Regions from separate parts of the Homo sapiens genome. Here all the other regions are linked to region 1. The links are contacts of gene promoters, found by promoter capture Hi-C in human tissues and cell types (Jung and others, 2019). All regions are on one chromosome and are shown on one strand. Each heading gives the region's core, a stretch centred on a gene start or on the middle of the fragment in contact. The rest is flanking DNA. Distances are from core to core; before and after follow the strand shown. Region 1 holds the start of PDCD1 (programmed cell death 1). Region 2 overlaps HDLBP (high density lipoprotein binding protein). Region 3 overlaps SEPTIN2 (septin 2).

Region 1 (3,714 bases), core at 367-2,866:
ATTCCCAGTCCTCAGAGGACAGCTTCGTCCCACAAAGCTCAGAGCCTTGAGGAAGGCCCACTGCTGCCCTGGAACAGAGACAGCATTCAACAGAGGTTGGAACAAGGCTCTACAGGGCTGGGGGCAGAGGGAGGTTCTGTCCAGAATCTGCCTTCAGGACAAGTACAGCCAGCAGGGGCAGCTTAGCCACTTATCCACTGCCTGGGCGAGGCACAGGGCTATGGAGGCACCTACCAACCAACAGTTCTCCAGCCCCAGAGCCCCAGCCCCTGAGGCACAAGGGTGGGTGTGCCAGGAGACAGTTGCTGCGGGCCACCTTAGCTGTCTGGCAGCACAGTGGGTGCTGCCAGGCTCCCTGGGGGCCCCCCGCCAAGCCCACCTGGCCAGCTGGGCCCCCCCCACCTCCCCACCAAGCCACCCACACAGCCTCACATCTCTGAGACCCGGGAGTGGCCCTTTGTTCATAAACGAGAGCTTCCTCGCCGTGGCCGCGCCTCGCAGACATCATCTTTGATGCTCTTTTTCCACTGTTTCGGTGCTTTAATGTTTTCCCTTCAGAGCCGGGCCGAGTGTCTCTCGGAGCCAGGCAGCCGCGCCAGCTGTCAGGCGGTTTCTAGCCTCGCTTCGGTTATTTTAAGCTGATGAGCCTGACGCATCTCATCACTAATATCAGCAGTTTCATTTCTCCTGTTTTCCATTCGCTGTAATAAAATGCTCAGCACAGAATACAAGGAGATAAGCAAGCCATTTCACAAACGCCGGGCCGCCAGCCAGGCCCAGGCACTGGACCCCCTGAACCACCCCACCCTGGCACGAGTGGGCTGGAGGGCAGGGCCCCGGGGAAGAAGGTCAAGGCTGGAAGGGGAGGTCAGCCTCACAGCCAGCCCCTGCCACCGCCCCAGCCCCCCCGTCAGGCTGTTGCAGGCATCACACGGTGGAAAGATCTGGAACTGTGGCCATGGTGTGAGGCCATCCACAAGGTGGAAGCTTTGAGGGGGAGCCGATTAGCCATGGACAGTTGTCATTCAGTAGGGTCACCTGTGCCCCAGCGAAGGGGGATGGGCCGGGAAGGCAGAGGCCAGGCACCTGCCCCCAGCAGGGGCAGAGGCTGTGGGCAGCCGGGAGGCTCCCAGAGGCTCCGACAGAATGGGAGTGGGGTTGAGCCCACCCCTCACTGCAGCCCAGGAACCTGAGCCCAGAGGGGGCCACCCACCTTCCCCAGGCAGGGAGGCCCGGCCCCCAGGGAGATGGGGGGGATGGGGGAGGAGAAGGGCCTGCCCCCACCCGGCAGCCTCAGGAGGGGCAGCTCGGGCGGGATATGGAAAGAGGCCACAGCAGTGAGCAGAGACACAGAGGAGGAAGGGGCCCTGAGCTGGGGAGACCCCCACGGGGTAGGGCGTGGGGGCCACGGGCCCACCTCCTCCCCATCTCCTCTGTCTCCCTGTCTCTGTCTCTCTCTCCCTCCCCCACCCTCTCCCCAGTCCTACCCCCTCCTCACCCCTCCTCCCCCAGCACTGCCTCTGTCACTCTCGCCCACGTGGATGTGGAGGAAGAGGGGGCGGGAGCAAGGGGCGGGCACCCTCCCTTCAACCTGACCTGGGACAGTTTCCCTTCCGCTCACCTCCGCCTGAGCAGTGGAGAAGGCGGCACTCTGGTGGGGCTGCTCCAGGCATGCAGATCCCACAGGCGCCCTGGCCAGTCGTCTGGGCGGTGCTACAACTGGGCTGGCGGCCAGGATGGTTCTTAGGTAGGTGGGGTCGGCGGTCAGGTGTCCCAGAGCCAGGGGTCTGGAGGGACCTTCCACCCTCAGTCCCTGGCAGGTCGGGGGGTGCTGAGGCGGGCCTGGCCCTGGCAGCCCAGGGGTCCCGGAGCGAGGGGTCTGGAGGGACCTTTCACTCTCAGTCCCTGGCAGGTCGGGGGGTGCTGTGGCAGGCCCAGCCTTGGCCCCCAGCTCTGCCCCTTACCCTGAGCTGTGTGGCTTTGGGCAGCTCGAACTCCTGGGTTCCTCTCTGGGCCCCAACTCCTCCCCTGGCCCAAGTCCCCTCTTTGCTCCTGGGCAGGCAGGACCTCTGTCCCCTCTCAGCCGGTCCTTGGGGCTGCGTGTTTCTGTAGAATGACGGGTCAGGCTGGCCAGAACCCCAAACCTTGGCCGTGGGGAGTCTGCGTGGCGGCTCTGCCTTGCCCAGGCATCCTTGGTCCTCACTCGAGTTTTCCTAAGGATGGGATGAGCCCCATGTGGGACTAACCTTGGCTTTACGACGTCAAAGTTTAGATGAGCTGGTGATATTTTTCTCATTATATCCAAAGTGTACCTGTTCGAGTGAGGACAGTTCTTCTGTCTCCAGGATCCCTCCTGGGTGGGGATTGTGCCCGCCTGGGTCTCTGCCCAGATTCCAGGGCTCTCCCCGAGCCCTGTTCAGACCATCCGTGGGGGAGGCCTTGGCCTCACTCTCCCGGATCGAGGAGAGAGGGAGCCTCTTCCTGGGCTGCCCGTGACCCTGGGCCCTCTGTGTACACTGTGACCACAGCCCGCTCCTGGACCCTCTGTGCCCGGCTGGCCCTCTGTGCCCAGCCAGCCTGCACCTGGGGATGCCAAGGCCTGGGGAGGGTGGTTTCACCCAGGCCAAGCCTAAGACAGTCCCTCTGGGCCCTGCTGGGTACCGGGGTGTGACACCACTGGGAGGACAAGATGAGGGGCACCCCTGGGGCCGCCCTGACACCCCCTCGAGGCTCCTGCCCCGGGGGTCCTGGTGCCCCTTCACTGTGGCAGGCGACTGGGGGTTCCCCACCTCGGCCCCTCTCCCGGGGCCTGCTCCCCGGCACCTGAGGCAGCATCCTTGTCAGGGCCGTGCCTTCCTGCCTCAGCGCCACCTCTTAAGGTTGGCCCGTGGGTCACTCAGGACTCAGAACTGGAGATTCTGGGCAAAAGGCAAAGAGCAAAGGGCCAAAAGGCATCCCAGGGAGACGACTGCGGGGGAACCAGAGGGCAGAGGGGCGCTCGTCACAGGGGAGGGGGAGCTGAGCGAGGCAGGAGGGGAGCCGAGCCTCTCCCCCCGTGTCCCGGCTCTTCAGGCACGCCCTCGGGACGCCACCCTCCCCGACCCAGGCGGGAAAGATAAGAGCAAGGTGTCCGCAGCCTGACACTCGTGCCTCAGGTGCCCGCGCTTGTGCCGGACAAGACTCTCACAGGTGGCATGCCTCGGTTTCCCCACTGGTAACAGCACAGGGCACTCAGCAAGGCGCAGTGGGCATGACTGGGGTCCTGTGGGTCCTGACCCAGATGTGGCCACCCCGGCCGCAGTGGTCTTCATTCCAGGATGCCTCTTTTCCCTCCTGATCTATTCACTGCGTTCGCCATTCGGTCATTCCCGGGGCCACCACTCCCACCTCAGGTGTGTGCTTCCCTTGTGTTTTATGAGATATCCCCAACCCGGCTGCTTATTGGCCCCGTCCGAGGGCAGGAGCATAAATAAGAGCCTCTGCTTTGGCGTGGGACCACTGTGAGCTCCAGTCAGCGCTGCCACTGCTGAGCTCTGGGCCTTCGACAGGACTTGGCCCCTTACTGACTTCTCCGTGTGCTTTGGGTCATGGGTGAGGACGCCTCCTGGCAAGGCTGCGTCCTGAGGATTAAATCGGGTCATCTGTGAAAACTACCCAGCCCAGCCCCTGACACTTTTTTGTTTGTTTCTTTTAGTGACAGGGTCTTGCTCTGTC
Region 2 (3,714 bases), core at 898-3,397, 550 kb after region 1:
CCAGGCTGATCTTGAACTCCTGGCCTCAAGTGATTCTCCTGCCTCAGACTCCCGAAGTGCTGGGAGTGAAGGCTTTGCATCTGGCCTCAGAGGCTTTTCTTTCTGTGAAATTCAGAACTCCCAGAACAGTGATGTCCCTTGGAGACTGTTTTCATCCATCGTCTTGCCTACTCTTTGGTCCTGTTTATTTGCAACTCATGTTCTTCAACGCTGGGCATTTTTTTGATTTATTGCTTTGATTTCTTCCTATTTGCTTTCTCTCTCTCTCTCTAGAATTCTACTCTTGGACTTTCTGGATTGGCACTCATAATTTTCTTAAGGTTTCTTTTTCCCCCCTCTAAAATTTTTGTTTTTGTTTTTATCTTTTAAATTGTAAATTGACAAATTATACTTGTACATATTTAGGGGGTACAAAGTGATGTTACGATTTATGGATACAATAAATAATAAAATCAAGTTAACATAATTCATCACTTCAAATACTTTAAGTTTTTTGTGGTGAAAGCATATGAGATTACTGTCAGCACTTTTGAAATCGACATTATTATTTACTATATTCACCGTGCTGTACAATATATCTCATAAAAGAAAACCACATTCCTCCTGTCTAATTGATGTTTTGTACCCTTTGGTTTTTCATTTTCTTTCTGGAAGTTATTCTCAAGTTTGTCTTCCAGCCCTTCTACCAAGGTTTTTCTCATTTCTAAGAGCTTTTTCTTGTTCCCTCTATTCCTATTTTATAACCTATTTTTTGTTTCATGAATGTGGTATCTCCTGTTAACTGTTGGAAGATATTGATGAGGTTTTATTTTTCCCTGTTTTCTTTTTCCTTAAGTCACTATTGAGGCTGCTCTGGTTTGTTGTGGGTTTTTGGCTTTTGTCAGCCTTTTCTGGGCTATGCAGTGATGTTCTTGTGCCTGCTCGTGAGTCAGAGGGCCTCTGAGCCTGTGTCTGTGGCTGACTGTGGCTTTCACTGCAGAGGCACCTGGCTGGGCCATTTCCTTACAGCACCCTTGTCAGCTTCTTTGGGTTTCTTCAGATTCCCCAGAGAAATATCTTGTAGCCCTTTGCCTGGCTGAGTGGCCAAGTGAGGAGAGAGGCCTGGGAGCACAGCAGTAACCATAAAAGAGCTTACTTCCCTCTTTTCAGAATTGTTTCCCTCCTCTGTAACTGGTGTCCCCAGTCCAAAGATTCTACTTCCCTTTGCAGACAGAAAAGCGATACCTTTTTGCCAGGATAGGAGAGGGACTGTGCAGGTTGGCTCTGTGTGGCTGTGCAGAGTTGTGGGGTGCATCTTAGGGATCTTCGTGCCTTTTAAACCTATCAGCCAACTCTGTTTTTAATTCAGGTCTCCTGGCTTCCAGTCATATTGCCAGTTGGCCTTCCCCATTGCCGATACAGGATTCAGCCCTTTTAGGTCTGTTTCCAGTTTCTAGCCTCCAGTATTTTAATGTTCTTATCTCTATTCTTATTCTTTGCTTTCGTGATTTGTATCTTAAAAAAAGAAAAAATCGTTTACTATCATTTTAGTGGTGCTTCACGAAGTAGTGTAAATGTATTGATCTGACAACGGCTCGTGCTGGAGACACTGTTCCAGGAAGTGGGACACAGTAAGGAAAATGCAAGTGTGTTCTCCTGCACTTTCACGGAGGTCACGTTTTGGTAAGCGGTGTCAGGCAGTCAGCAGACCAGCAGATATGCAGTATGTCCAATGTGGACAAGAAGAAAGGAGGAAAATAAAGTATCGAGGGGAGTGGAGTGGGGGACACAGTGGCAGTTTGGCATAGTGGGGAGGCCTTGCTGATTGAGCGACAGTTGATTCAAACTTGAGATGAGCAAACAAGCCATGGGCAGCGATCTGGGGAAGAGCGTTATAAGAGGAATGGACAGGAGGTGAAAAGCACGGGGGCAGGACTGTGTTGTGCACGTTAGAGGAATGTGGAACACCAGTTATTAGACCAGTGTGGAGCAGGACCAGAGGGTGTAGGAGACGGGCAGGTCAGGGAAGAAGCCGGGGCTCCTAGCAGTCGGATCTTGATGCCTTTGGAGAGCTGGAGCAGAGTGACCCAGTACTGGTGGTGGATCGTGGTGAAGTGACCATGGGCCACACCATTCACGACATTTCTTACTTTTCCTGTCACCTGTAGGAGGCAAGTATTGTTGTTATCACAGGTCGAGGTAGACCCTGAGGCAAAGGCTAGAGTTAGTGGTTTGGCTCCAGTTTGTGCCTTCAGCTACTTCACTGCTTCCCTAACCTGGCCTTGTCAGTCAGCCTCAGTCTACCATCTACCCAGGTCTGCATACCCCGCAAAACAGTATACACTTTGACGCTTTTCTGCAAGCACAATTACCTTTTGGGGGAGCCCTTCTCTTAAAGCAGAGTAGGTTAATGTTTGTGAATGAAACGGAACTTTGGCAGGCTGAGGTGTCTCAGGTCATCAGCTTACGTTGTCTACTGTGTGACTAATTGAGGCAAAAGATGTCCTTTTTAATAGTATTTTCTCATCACTTTTGCCTGGGTGCCCTTTAGGAATGTTATTTTTGGCATACAACTTGAGTTTCACTTAAATTTATAATTCTTTCTGTTCATTCCTACTGCTCTGTTGCCCAGATGTGGATTTTGCTTTGTCTCACAAGCGTTGCTGAAACACTGGTAGAAAGGTGGACGACGGATTGGTTGTGATTAGTTTGATCTTCACAGTACAGAAATTCAAAAGGTCAATAAGCTCAACAAGATTGCTGTCTCACTGATGATCAGAGTTGCCATTAAAATCGTATTTCCCGCACATCAGGCTGGAAAAAAGAATAAACATGATCATTTTAGTTGTCCTCAAAGGAGAAGAGGACAGGTATTCTGTAATCAGGTGTTGTGAGTGTAACTAGTTAAACTCTTTGGGAGGTGGGCAGTTTTACCTTGGCAATATCTATCAATGCATTGCCTGTCATCATATAATTCCATTTCCAATTCAATTTATCCTGTGGGGGTAGAGGCCCAAGTGAGCAGAGGATGTTCTTTCCAGCATTGTTTATAATCGCAAAAAAAAAAAAAAATTAGTTCAAGGGTCCTATCAGTAGGGGATTTATTAAGGTATGTTTACTCCACTCAACATGTAGTTGTTAACAAATGAGGTAAATTTGTATTTGGTACTCGGAAAGATGGCCATGGTGTCTTTTCAAATGAAAATAAGTGTAGCAGATGGTGAAAGAATGCATGTAAGATCCTATTTTTATTTAAATCATGTATTAAAATTATAATTAAAGTATAATTAAAATTACAGTTTTGAAGATACAGTTTAGAATATATTTTTTGGTAAAGCCTCATGGGGGGGTTGCCAGTTTTTACATTGTTTTGTTGAGTTATCTTTTAGAATATTTTTAAAGCTAAAAAATCAAGTTCCTTGGTAGACCATCACTACAGCAAGCCCACTGCAGTATTAATCTATTAATACTGTCAATGTTAATTAAACCATTATTCGTGTAGCCCCTACCCATCCCATTCCAGTCTCTCAGGAGGCTTAGCTGTATCCCAGAGACCCCAGTGCTATGACCGCAGGTCTCTCCTGGGGCAGGAAGAGGTAAGAAGTGGCTGATGTCAAAGTCAACAGTCAGCAAGTGGCGTGAGCAGTCTCGATGAATTCTTTCAAATAAGCGTTTTTCAGATCCACTCTAGGGCTTGCCTTTTCCCTCTGTTGTAGTCTCAGAAGTTCTTGAGGT
Region 3 (3,714 bases), core at 326-2,825, 530 kb after region 1:
GGCCATAATGCCTTTTATGACCTAGTCTTAGAAAATGACAACACTTTCATCTCCACAATGTCCTACTGGCTACACAGGTAAAACCCTATTCAATGCAGGAAGGGACAAGAAAGTTGTGAATACCAGGAGATAAGAATCACTGGGGGCCATTTTGGAGCCTAGCTGACACAATGAGTAAACTTTCACTACATATAAATAAGAAAGTGACAGAAAAATAATTTTGCTCCTGAGAAAAATTTTCTAATGAATACACATATATTTGTTCAAATTCTCAAGTTATTTGACTCTGCCAAATTTTCCTCTTTCTTTATAGGTCACGTTATCATACTCCAGAGATTGGAAAGGGGAGATATTTATTTAGTAAGTTGGAGACTATAGATTAATTTCTTACCGACCACCATCAGTGTGAACTCAAAACCTTTTTTCACTGATTTTCGGTGAACTTGATTGGGGAGGTTTGCAAATCCAACATAGCCAGGTGTTTCTGGATTTATAAACTGAGTTGGCTGTTGCTAAATAAGATTAAAAAACAAACAAACTAATAAACACCTTAGTAGTTGCTTTTAAGATATAATCAGTTAGACATGAAACAAACATAGGTTATCAGTTTTCACAAATTTTTTAAAAAGTATAAACACTTCCAGAAGGTCATACTTCTATCAGAAAACCAGTAGTATTCAACTAGGAGCATTAAAAAAAGAAAAACTTATCTAGTATAACTCCTTAGTTGTATGCGACTGAAAATTAACATTTTGTTAATCAGTATTCTGTTTAGGAATTTAACAATACATAGAAGATACATGCTTAATACATCTTAATGCAATTTCAAATTTCGACTTGAGAGACTATGGAGTTCCAGGAAAATCAGTCAAGCTTACAAAGTACTGCTACAGCTGACAGTACTTTGAATGAATGGTTTCATTCAACAAACTTGGCTAAAGAATAGCTTCTCCCAGGTATTAGGTGCAATGCATTTCTGAAAAGTATCGAGGAAAAAAGCATCTCTCTTGCTGTGCTTCTAGCTCTATAGAACAGAGTTTCATCAAGGGTGAGGCAGGCAAATTAGGGGTGGGATGTTGAGTATCTAGTGTCAAAGACCAAGAAAGAAAAGACAGAATGAGAAGATCATAGATGACTACACTGAAGCATCAATATTCCTTGACAGAAGGGTATCTGATGAGAGAGAGGACAGAGATATGAGAAGGCAAGAATAGCAGAAGTAACCAGAATCTAGACAGTGGCATACTGAAAATGAGAAGAAATTTTAAAAATCAATTTATTAATTGAAAAAGGCAAGATACAAAATAGTATTTCCTTTAGGATTACATTTTGTAAATGTATAGTCAAATGCACACACAGGTGAAAAAGAATATATGTAACATATTAACAGTGGTTATTCCTGAGTGGTGAAATAATGACTTTTTTTTTTGCTTATCTGTGTTCCATGCTAACACTGGTATAAAATGCAAAAACTGGTATGATGATTTTGCATTGGACAGTAATGAACACCCACAGGATTCAAAGATAAAAAAAAAACAGAAATAATAATCTTGCAATGTTAACCACAAGTTCTGCTTTTCTCAGAATATGTTCTTTAGCACTAATTTATCTCTGAACTAACTTGCAAAGGCTGATTTAAACCAATTTATCAAGTCTAAGAGCCCCATCAATTTCATCATAATAAATTATCAGAATTCTAAATTATCTGGTCTGCTGGGAATGAACTAAGGGGGCCAAAAGGACTGTTACTGATGTGTGTAGAGAAAAGAAAGTAGAAGCCTGAAAAAAGAGAAAGCTCCAAGCTTTTAAGATGACAATTAGGCCAGGCACGGTGGCTCACACCTGTAATCCCAACACTTCGGGGGGCCAAAGCGGGTGGATCACGAGGTCAACAGATCAAGGCCATCCTGGCCAACACGGTGAAACCCCGAATTTACTAAAATCCAAAAAATTAGCCAGCGTGGTGGCACGTGTCTGCAGTCCCAGCTACTCCGGAGGCTGAGCCAGGGGAATCGCTTGAACGTGGGAGGCAGAAGTTGCAGTGAGCTGAGATCATGCCACTGCACTCCAGCCTGGTGACAGAACAAGACTCCCGTCTCAAAAAAAAAAAAAAAAAGACAACTAAATTAGAACTCTTTGTGTTAATGAATCAAATGTATCAGTTGTATTAAAAATAATGAATCATATAAGTCCCGACTGTCAACAGTCTGAAAACATAAAGCAATTTCTCCTTATGCTGTAGATACATGAAGTATGATCTTACCTTAGACATCTTTTGTGAAGCTTCGTCTGTTAAAAAAAAAACACACAGACACACATAAACGCACATACATAGTATGTATGTATACGCACGTATATTTAACAGCGTGAACTGACCTGAAGAAGACTTACACATACATAGGCAATGTAAAAAGAAAATACAATTTCAGGACCTTCCAAATGCATTAGGCCAAAGGGAAAAGTTAAGCACTGACAGCTGGCTCGTGTAACATCACTACTTTTATTCTTTCTGACTTTTGTGTTTAGATGTATATATTAACCAGACCCCCTATTCTTTATTCAAAACTAGACTAAATGACTGGGAGATGAGAGATCCTTATGACTGTTACTTCTTTACAAAAGGAAGTTAAACAAATCCCTTCAAGTGTAATCAATAGTAGCCAATCAAATTTGTATCTTTAAATGAGCCTTAGTTCCGAAAATGTTATAATTCTGTTTGGCACCTCCATTTTGCCTATATAAACAATCCTCATTTTTCCCCACCCTGGGAGCGCTAATCACCATTCTTTGGTGTAGCTCGCTTACACTCTGTACTTAAATGAATTCTTTTAACTGAATCAGGAGCCTTTTGATTATTTTAGGTGACAGCATCTCAATTACTTCAAATATTTCCCTAGGAATAAGACAAGCATCTATCATTACAAAAATAAATTCGATTAAAAAAATTAGGCCAGACGTGATGCTCACGCCTGTAATTCCAGCACTTTGGGAGGCCGAGGTAGGCAGACCACTTGAGGTCAGGAGTTCAAGACCAGCCTGGCCAACATGGTGAAACCCCATCTCTACTAAAAATACTGATTCAGCCAGGCATGGTGGCGCTTGAGGTCAGGAGTTCAAGACCAGCCTGGCCAACATGGTGAAACCCCGTCTCTACTAAAAATACTGATTCAGCCAGGCGTGGTGGTGCGTGCCTGTGATCCCAGCTACTCAGAAGGCTGAGACAGGAGAATCGCTTGAACCTGGGAGGCGGAGGTTGCAGTGAGCCGAGATCATGCCACTGCACTCCAACCTGGGCAACAGAGTGAGACTCCATTAAAAAAAAAAAAAAAATTAGATGGTGGCTGGGTGCAGTGGCTGACGCCTGTAATCCCAGCAGTTTGGGAAGCAGAGGCAGGACTGCTTGAAGCCAAAAATTCAACACCAATCTGGGCAACATAGCAAAACCCTATCTCTACAAAAAATTAAAAAATTAAAAAAATTTTTAAGTTGATAAAAGCAACTGTATATATATATGTACGCACATATTCCATATTTTCAATAATATTCAAATTTTTTTTCAGTACTGACTATATGTTAGACACTAGGGACACAAATGGGATACACACGGATACATACTTCCCTGACCTCTGGAATTATGTCATTTCCCCTCTCTCTTTGAAACCTTTCAAGGAGTAAGGGACTTCATTACATAGAGCACTGTAACTTGAACATGTT

What was found. The method cuts DNA at HindIII sites, captures the fragments that hold promoters and counts their contacts. A contact is called where the count stands out against the background at its distance.
Region 2: a fragment that was not itself captured here is called in contact with the fragment with the promoter of PDCD1 in region 1 in 1 of the 25 tissues and cell types used here (lymphoblastoid cells).
Region 3: a fragment that was not itself captured here is called in contact with the fragment with the promoter of PDCD1 in region 1 in 1 of the 25 tissues and cell types used here (lymphoblastoid cells).

What each region holds. Positions count from the first base shown.
Region 1 is chr2:241,856,796-241,860,509 of GRCh38, reverse strand. It overlaps PDCD1 (programmed cell death 1), which reads left to right and starts at 1,616. Exons shown (of 5, transcript NM_005018.3): 1 at 1,616-1,747. The coding sequence starts at 1,672. It overlaps LOC124908032 (a long non-coding RNA gene), which reads right to left and starts at 1,438. Exons shown (of 2, transcript XR_007088436.1): 1 at 433-1,438. RefSeq lists an enhancer at 1,448-2,410. The HindIII fragment of the contact is 28,999 bases long and covers 1-3,714 here.
Region 2 is chr2:241,307,212-241,310,925 of GRCh38, reverse strand. All of the region lies in intron 1 of HDLBP (high density lipoprotein binding protein), which reads left to right. Among named protein-coding and RNA genes, the nearest start is that of HDLBP, 6.6 kb to the left of the region's middle. RefSeq lists an enhancer at 1,021-1,522. The HindIII fragment of the contact is 9,441 bases long and covers 1-3,714 here.
Region 3 is chr2:241,322,791-241,326,504 of GRCh38, reverse strand. It overlaps SEPTIN2 (septin 2), which reads right to left. Exons shown (of 13, transcript NM_004404.5): 2 at 2,264-2,289; 3 at 392-512. The coding sequence starts at 2,272. Among named protein-coding and RNA genes, the nearest start is that of SEPTIN2, 8.7 kb to the right of the region's middle. The HindIII fragment of the contact is 3,359 bases long and covers 1-3,254 here.